Linked DNA regions of Homo sapiens: region 1 is linked to region 2. The links are contacts of gene promoters, found by promoter capture Hi-C in blood cells and fetal thymus (Javierre and others, 2016). All regions are on one chromosome and are shown on one strand. Each heading gives the region's core, a stretch centred on a gene start or on the middle of the fragment in contact. The rest is flanking DNA. Distances are from core to core; before and after follow the strand shown.

Region 1 (4,546 bases), core at 1,010-3,509, 190 kb after region 2:
AAGGACTTTCTAATGGTGAAAACATTTCACGCAGTAAGTGCATTAAAATGCTTTCTCAGATTTTACTACTCCAATTAATGATTCCATTTTCTTCAAGGGTTATTGACTGAAATGAGAGTGATTCCCATGTGGGAGGCATGTTCATGTACTTAATATCTGAGGGCTGCCAGCAGCCTACCTCAATGCTGTGTTCTTTGAACCTGCAACTATTAGGACCAGAGCAAGTCCATAATTGAAGTAGGTCCACACCGTGATGCAGTTTCTCCAGCTGTGGAAATTTCTAGGGCTTATCAATATCCCATGGAAAATGAGTCTCTACGAAGGCCCACATTTACTGTGCAAGTGAGAGACAAAACTATCCCTAATTCTAATGCACCTGGAGTAAAGCGATATGCGTATGCATTACACAGAATTATAAATGCTCTGGCCACATGTCATCCATCTGCACCTTCTGTGCTACCAGCAGATCATGCTGAATGATCTCAGAAATTCAGATTATTATTATGCAATATGAGAAGGATCTAGGTAAAGGCAGGTGGGGTGGATATGCTTACAGGTGTCTTCCCATATATTCTATTCATGCCTAAAGTGAAACACAGGTTTATTTTAGGGCTCATTTTTCATGGATCATTGATCATAAGTTTTAAAAACGCCTGCAGAGTGAAATCCAAAAATGTCCAAAAGCCAGTGCCACAGCAACAATAACTGCCTCACAGACGTACATTGCCTATTATGTACCATCCAGTGTATGTTAAATAGTAGACATTATATATCAAATATTACTTGTTATATATCATAATCTTGAGTTTTAATAGCTTGCAGCTTCAGAGAGTAGAGTAGGAAGCTTGGCTGCATACAGTATGTGGGATGCTCAGATAGGAAATATGTAAACACTGATGAAACACATGCTCATTCTGGTCAATAACCTCGTGTATATAACAATTATGAAATGCTACTGTAGGTGATCTTAAAAGGCTTCCTATTACATACATTCATACATCAGAATAAAATCTATTACATCTCTTCTTCAGTGTTGTGATAAGTGATACTGTGAAAATCACCTTATTGCCAGGCTTTCTAAGTAATCATGAGGAGTAGGAGAGGGTTCAGGAGAGTAACAGGTAAGAAGGTCCTATGCAGCCATAAAAAAGAATGAGATCATTTCCTTTGCAGGAACATGGATGGAGCTGGAAGCCATTGTCCTTAGCAAACTAACACAGGAATAGAAAACCAAACACTGCATATTCTCACTTATAAGTGGGAGATAAATGATGAGAACACATGGACACGTCGGGGGAACAACAGACAATGGGACCCACTGGACGTGGAGGGTGAGAGGAAGGAGAGGATCAGGAAAAATCACTAATGGGTATTAGGCTTAGTACCTGGGTGATGAAATAATCTGTACAACAAACCCCTGTGACATGCTTTTACCTATATAACAAACCTGCGCGTGTACCCCTGAACTTAAAAGTTTAAAAAAAGACAAATATATAAACAAACAGTGGTACCTTGATTCTTTAAGAGAAAAGCCATGAATTCCCCAAACTATAGACTGGTGAATTTGATATTGATTCTAAGCCAGAGGTCAGCCAACTTTTCTCAAAAGTGTCAGAGAGTAAGTAGCTATTTGAGGCTTGTGGGTCACATGGTCTCAGTCACAACGACTCCACGCTGCTGCAGGAGTGTGAAAGCAGACACTGACAATGTGTATGCGGATGAGCATGGCTGTGTGCCAACACAACTTGATATTCAAAAATGGATGGAGGGCCAGATGCAATATTCTAGAATAGGCTTAAAAGAAAAAAAGACTGTGAGTCCTTAAAAAGAGATGTGTTGATCCCCAGGAGTTTGCATGAACGCAGTGGTCCTCAGCGCCAGCAAGGACCACATTAGCCTAGCAAGGCTACACATTAGAATCACTGGGGAACCTTGAAAAATCCTGGTGCTCGGCCTATATCCCAGACTAATGAAATCAGAATCCCTGGGATGGGGTCTCAGAAGTTCATCATTTCTAGGGGATTCATAAGTGATTCCAATATGAAGCCACAGTTGAGAACCACGGTATGAAGTTGTGAAGTAGTGCCAGGTTAACCTCACTTCTTTTTCCTGAAAAGCCTCTGATAGTTGCTATTTGGCACTTTGGAGAATAATTTGCTGATCTCTGGCTTAGAATCAATATCAAATTCATCAGTCTGTAGTTTGGGAAGTTCATAGCCTTTCTCTTGAAAAACCAGGGCACCATTGTTTATTTGTTTTTTGTTTTTGTTTTTAATATTTGGACCTTCCCACCTGTTATTCCTTCCCTTCGTTCCTCCCTCCATCCCTCCCTCCCCCCTCCCTTCTTTCCTTCCTTCCCTCCCTCCATCCTTCCCTCCCTCCCTCCTTCCTTCCTTTTCCCTCCCTCCCTCCCTTCCTTCCTTCCTTCCTTCCCTCCTTTCCCTTTCTCCCTCCCTCCCTCTCTCCCTTCCTTCTTCTTATCTTTCCTTTCCTCCTCCTCCTCTTGGATAAAGTAGCCAGACAACTCTATTGGGGAAAAATAGTAGATGCTGTCCATGTGGATTTCTGCCAGCCATTCGCCAAAACTTTTCATTACTGTTCTGGTGGACAAATTAGGACAATGTGTTGGATGACAGAGCTGGGCTGTGATGAATAGAGTAGATACTATCCAGAATTCTTTCATGGCCTCACCCCTCCCCATTGGTGACTGTATAACAGGCATCCAGTAAATCTTTGTTGTGGGGACTGGAAATCCAACCTATAAGAAATAGTTGAGTGAACTAGGAATGTTTAACTTGCAAAAGAAAAAAAAATTATAGTGGAGTTTGAAGAGGGGTAAACATGACAATTGTCTTAAGATGTTTGTTGGGTTGTTATAATGAAGAAACAGATTTCTTTTGAAATTTCTAGAGTAGAAATAGAATCATTGTGGGAAGCCACCAGGAGGCATTCATTTGACAAATATTTTTTGAGCAGCTACTCTGTACCAGGCACTGTTTAGGCCCTTGAGACCTACCTATGAACATGACCTAAGATCCATGCCCTTGTGGAGTTTATGGTCTAGAGACTTATTTTCACATATCCGATGATTAAAGCTGTCAGAAAATAGAATGGGCTGCTTCAGAAGGTATTGATTGTAGGTTGGATAATCACTTATTTGAGGTCATTATTGTCAGGCCTCTGAGCCCAAGCTAAGCCATCATATTCCCTGTGACCTGCATGTATACATCCAGATGGCCTGAAGCAACTGAAGATACACAAAAGAAGTGAAACTAGCCAGTTCCTGCCTTAACTGATGACATTCCACCATTGTGATTTGTTCCTGCCCCACCCTAACTGATCAATTGACTTTGTGACAATACACCCTCCCTGCCCTTGCAATAATGTATTTTGTGATATTCCCCTGCCCTTGTGAATGTACTTTGTACGATATACCCTCCCCACCCTTGAGAAGGTACTTTGTATTATCCTCCCTTGCCCTTGAGAAGGTACTTCGTATTATTCTCCCCACCCTTTAGAATGTACTTTGTAAGATCCACCCCCTGCCTGTAAAAAATTGCCCCTAACTCAACCGCCTATCCCAAACCTATAAGAACTAATGATAATCCCACTACCCTTTGCTGACTCTCTTTTCAGATTCAGCCCGACTGCACCCAGGTGATTAAAAAGCTTTATTGCTCACACAAAGCCTGTTTGGTGGTCTTTTCACACGAACTCGTGTGACATTTATAAGCCACAAAAATCCAATAAGAATCTTTATCCTTGAGTATCTCTGAGTCAAGGAAAGTACCTTCTTCCTTCCCTCTCTTTGCACTCACCTTCCCTTCCCCCATCACTCCCCTAATCCCACACTCGTTTTCAAGGTAGCAATGTCAGAAGTTTACAGTTTGATCTGGCAATCCCAAAGCTCCAGGCAGAACAATCACAGGCAGTGAATAAAGCTGTGGACAAATTGTCCCTCTCTTGCATGACAAGGCCAATGGAGGCAGGGAGGGGCTTGCTCCCTGCTTTGAGTTTCTGGGACTAGTTTTATGTTAGTGTCATCCTGCACATCCCATACAATGGGAACGGACAATGTAGTGTTTGGGGCCATAAACATTTAAATTATGTGTCTTTGGAGTCTTGGGGTTTCAAAGACCACTGACTGGCTGGTTGATACGTAGTACTACAATGAAGTTTCCTATTTGTATGTGGTTTTTCCTTTCAACTCTTTGCCACAACCAGATACTAGTAATGGGTTGAGATGATGGGAAAGTTGTGGGGAGGAAGGATGCTGTATTTTCTTTCACTGACCACAGTGATGCACATACATATATATATATATATATATACATATATGTATATTTATATACAAACACATACACACATGTACATGTGTGTATATATAAATATACATCTATGAATATTGTTTGCTCTGTGGCTGGTGGGCAAAGGAATGAACACAGTGAGAGAGTGGAGGCAACAAAGTGGCCCCATGAAGTGTGGCACACTCCTATTTCAAATGCCTAATGCTGACCTCCCAAGAAGAGCAGAATGGAAGAATTTC
Region 2 (4,603 bases), core at 87-2,586:
CTCTTTGTTTTCCTAAAGCCTGGCACAGAAGTACTGAATCCATGCTGAAGGCCTTATTGGGTTTGCTTGGTGACTTGTGGGTCTTCCAGGCATAACTTGGCATTGCTTCCATTTATTATGGCTAGTCCTGCAGAGTCCTGTGCTGAGGCTGCAGGAGGGATAGAAGGCTTGGCCCTTGTTTTCTGAGAGCTTGCCTTCTGAAATGTGGCCTGACTTAAGGGGAAGAAACCCCACCTGCATGTGTCCTCCCTCAAGCGACGGTCCCTATAAGGCTCTACCGGAGTCCTCTCCCCTCCCTCCCTCCCCTCCCACCATCAGTCCCATTAAGTGGGCTCTGCGGATGGCCACTTACTTTGAGTAAACTGGGGAATTCAGCCTGAATCAATAGCTTCAGTTCATCCTTTGACAACTGGTCTGGATCACCTTCTTTGGCTGCATATTTTTCAAAAATCCTCTTCAGTTCCTCAGGAGACTTTTTAGTACTCATTCTGGTGTCTTATAAATTGGGAAGAAAATAAACTTACCAAAAAGCTGAAGTACAGTTTTGTGCTGAGGGTTGTCTGCAGGATTTTAGTGCCATTGGGCCATTTCCTTGGCATAAATGGGGAAGAATAAGGAAAAGAGAATGTCGGGGTCGGAATGGCACCAGTAACTACTAACATGTTTAAAAAATAAGCATCTTAGGCCAGGCACGGTAGCTCATGCCTGTAATCCCAGCACTTTGGGAGGCCAAGGAGGGTGGATCACTTGAAGTCAGGAGTTCGAGACCATGGAAGCCTGGCCAACATGGTGAGACCCTGTCTCTATACAAAAATTAGCCAGGCGTGGTGGTGCGTGCCTATAGTCCCATCTACTTGGAAGACCGAGGCAGGAGAATCGCTTGAACCCGGGAGGCGGAGGTTGCAGTGAGTGCGATGCCACTGCACTCCAGCCTGGGTGACAGAGCGAGCCTCCGCTGCAAAAAAAAAAAAAAAAAAAAAAAGACATCTTAGATAGTATGTTAAATGTCTGTTCTTAGAGTACATCTGTTAGGAGATGGTCCCTGGAGCCAAACATTTTTATTAGTAATTAATGACATTCTACACTTTTTATGTACCTGATCTGCACTCTGCAGGCTGTGGTCTTGAAGAATACTTGACCACAGCTTCTAGCTTCTAAGTTACAGGGAATATCTCCAGATGGCATAAACTCACCTTCTCTCCAGACCATTATCTTTCACACCATTCTAAAAGGAAGCAGAGTATTAATGCAAACAGAAGGAGCTCTAGGTAGTACCAAAATCACACTAACCTGGTTGCCCAATAGTGAAACAGCTAGAAGAATCAAAGAGGAGTTTGAAGAGCTGAGCAGAATCATGACACTTTTATAGTCTTTACGGGCACGCCACCCTGATTATGAAAATTTCCTTTTGTTGGCCATTTAAGGGTAATTATTAATGGTTTTTGAAACTCAGGCTTAAGACTGCATGAACCCCATAATTAAGGGCAAGATCCAGTAAAGGTCCATCTCGACAGTTGCTTCATGGTTCAGAGTCGTAAGCTTGGATTTTTTTCCCCCTGAGATTATATTTTCCCTCCAATGTAGAATTATATTTGCTCACAGTTCACATTTCATAAAGCTTAGATATAGAGGATTCTTTTCAATTTAGTTGCATATTTAGGCTTTAAAAAATAACTTTCTTCATATCCAGAAAAAATAAATGCTGCCCTGTGCGGTAGCTCATGCCTGTAATCCCAGCACTTTGGGAGGCCGAGGCAGGAGGATTGCTTGAGGTGAGGAGTTTGATACCAGCCTGGTCAACACAGCAAGACATTTCTACTGAAAAATTTAAAAAATCAGCCAGGTGTGATGGTACATGCCTGTAGTCCCAGCTACTGTAGAGGCTGAGGTGGGAGGATTCCTTAAGCCTGGGAGGTTGAGGCAACAGTGAGCCATGATTGTGCCACTGCACTCCAGCCTGGGTGACAGAGTGAGATCCTGTCTGTAAAAAAGAAAAAATGCTGTCATAGAAGGACAATATTACATAGTTTAAAAAATTACGGTATGGCCATTGAAGTCCTTCTGATGTCTTTACATATTAGCAGCTTAAATATTTGAATACATGAATGAATGAATGGAAGTATTGCTTCAGAAGCAGGTTTAAGAAGTGGAAAGAAGATACTCAGTAATTTGTGGTTTTATTTGGCAAATCAATATTGAGTAACATGGTCATTTTTTCAGCTCTTTCATTATTTGTTGGTCCTGTGTCTGCTTTTTATTTCTCATTATCCTTTTCCTTACCAAATATATTTCGTGATCATTCGAAAAACTTGTGAGAACACTCGACTTACTCTTGTTCAGTTGGAAATACTTCAAACTTTTTGTAACTGCCATGATTTAAAATTGCCAAGGAGATTGATTTCTACTGGAAAGAGTTCCATGAAATAAGTAGGACATTTCCAAGGGACATTGATCTAATGCTGATTGTAACTCACAGGAAGGGGTTCCAGGTGGATTTTAAGAGCACTTTACAGCTTTGAAACACTTGTACACTTCCACACTTATAGAATTTTCCCTGACTCTGCCTTATATCACCTACAAACTGAGGACTGGACTATTGGGACTGTATTTCTCCCTGATGTTTCTCAGCTCTAAAATTCTAGGGCCTTATTTACATTGGAGAACAAATGGGAAATCTAATAGAATTCCTTAAAAGCTTCCCGCCAGTCTTGAGCATTTATCATTCCATGTGTCTTTGCTGTCTTGTATATATTCTTCTTGTTTTTATTATGGATTCTTTGACTTTGCTATGCACCAATATAGAATATGTATTAACTCACTGGTTGGAGTAAAGACAGGCATTTTATTTTTAGTTATAAGATTTTACACAAAAATATTCTGATTTTGGCAATGCATTTTAATCAAGATTTTAGAAAATTGCCAGTGTTTTTACACATATGTTCTGTTTTCCTGGGAGGAAGTAGGCGTTTGTGCTTAATCATAACAAGAACTATCTTTTTTTAAACATCTTTTAAAAAATATTTCAGATCTACAGAAAAGTGGCAAGAATAGTGCAATGAACACCAGTCTGCCTTTCGACTAGATTCACTAATTGCGAACATCTCCACATTTGCTTTCTCTTTCTCTGGACAGATACTTTCCTCCACCCCTGAGTCATTTGAGAATCAATTACAAACATCCAGATGCTTCCCCCCTGAGCACCTCAGCATCTGTCTCCTAAGGACAAAGACATTCTCCTATGTAACCACAATGCCATTATCATAGCCCACGTCAAATCTCTCCAATTGTTGAATAGCATCTTAAATCATCTTTTCTCTCAAATTACCACTAGTGAGCTAAAATCAAATGGGGTGTTTATTATGTTTTGCATCTGGTTTTTTTGTTTATTTTTTTGAAGCCACTTCACTGTGTCACTCAGGTTGGAGTGCAGTGGCGTGAACACAGCTCACTGCAGCCTCAACCTCCATGGGCTCAGGTGATCCTCCTACCTCAGCCTCCCGAGTAGCTGGGACTACAGGCATGTGCCACCATGCCCGGATACATATATATATATTTTGTGTATTTCTTGTAGAAAAATACAACATGGGTTTTGCCATGTTGCCCAGGATGGTCTCCAACTCCTGGGCTCAAATGATCTGCCCGCCTCAGTCTCCCAAACTGCTGGGATTACAGGCGTGAGCCACTGCACCTGGCCTATTTTTTGCATCTGAAGAAATGATTTTAATAACTATATGTCATCTTAGTAACGATATAGGATGAAAGATAACATGTTCTATATAATACACCCATATATTACATATGACGTGTGTATGTATATATAAAAATTATCTCTAAGAAAAACTTTTGGAGCAGTATTGGTTAATAGTCTTCTAGGCTACAAATCTCTTCTTTCAAGGGACAACTTCTGATTAGAATCAGCCCAATGCGGCCGGGCACGGTGGTTCACGCCTATAATCCCAGCACTTTGGGAGGCCGAGGTGGGCGGATCACCTGAGGTCAGGAGTTCGAGACCAGCCTGACCAACATGGAGAAACCTCATCTCTACTAAAAATACAAAAATTAGCCAGGCGTGGTGGTGCATGTTTGTAATTCCAGCTACTCGGGAAACTGAGGCAGGAGAATTGCTTGAACCCGGGAGGTGGAAGTTGCGTTGAGCTGAGATCCTGCCATTACACTCCAGCCTGGGCAATAAGAGCGAAACTTTGTCTCAAAAAAAAAAAAAAAAAAAAAAAAAAAAAGAATGGGCCCAATGCTGCCTATTGTCAGAATTTATACTTGTAGCGAATGCTAGCAAAACTTGAACTTGAAAAACAGCCTGTGCGGCTTCTTAAGTTTTTACTTGCTCACTTCTACCAGTCACATCTCTTGTCTCTTATTTTTCTCTTTACCCATAGACTTAAAAGCATGAGGGTAAACTTGCACTTGGAAGCATGAAAAATCCACTAATAGATACTCTTGTGAAACATTAACTAAAAATATATGGAGACAAGTGATAATTACAGGGTGTGTTCACAAGAGTGCGTTTTGAAACCAGAGAAGGGGGGAAACGACAGGCACAAGGGTGGTAATGGGAAAATGGAGAGGCAAAGGTTATTTATCACCT

The links. Contacts are between HindIII fragments. The CHiCAGO score rates a contact against its expected background, and 5 or more counts as called.
Region 1: a fragment that was not itself captured here is called in contact with the fragment with the promoter of S100G in region 2 in 1 of 17 cell types (non-activated CD4 T cells); the score reaches 5.6 in non-activated CD4 T cells.

Annotation. Positions count from the first base shown.
Region 1 is chrX:16,455,551-16,460,096 of GRCh38, reverse strand. All of the region lies in intron 1 of LOC124905249 (a long non-coding RNA gene), which reads left to right. Among named protein-coding and RNA genes, the nearest start is that of MIR548AM, 170 kb to the left of the region's middle. The HindIII fragment of the contact is 2,825 bases long and covers 847-3,671 here.
Region 2 is chrX:16,646,891-16,651,493 of GRCh38, reverse strand. S100G (S100 calcium binding protein G) reads right to left here and starts at 1,336. Exons shown (of 3, transcript NM_004057.3): 1 at 1,291-1,336; 2 at 353-495. The coding sequence starts at 487. All of the region lies in intron 13 of CTPS2 (CTP synthase 2), which reads left to right. The HindIII fragment of the contact is 12,685 bases long and covers 1-1,541 here.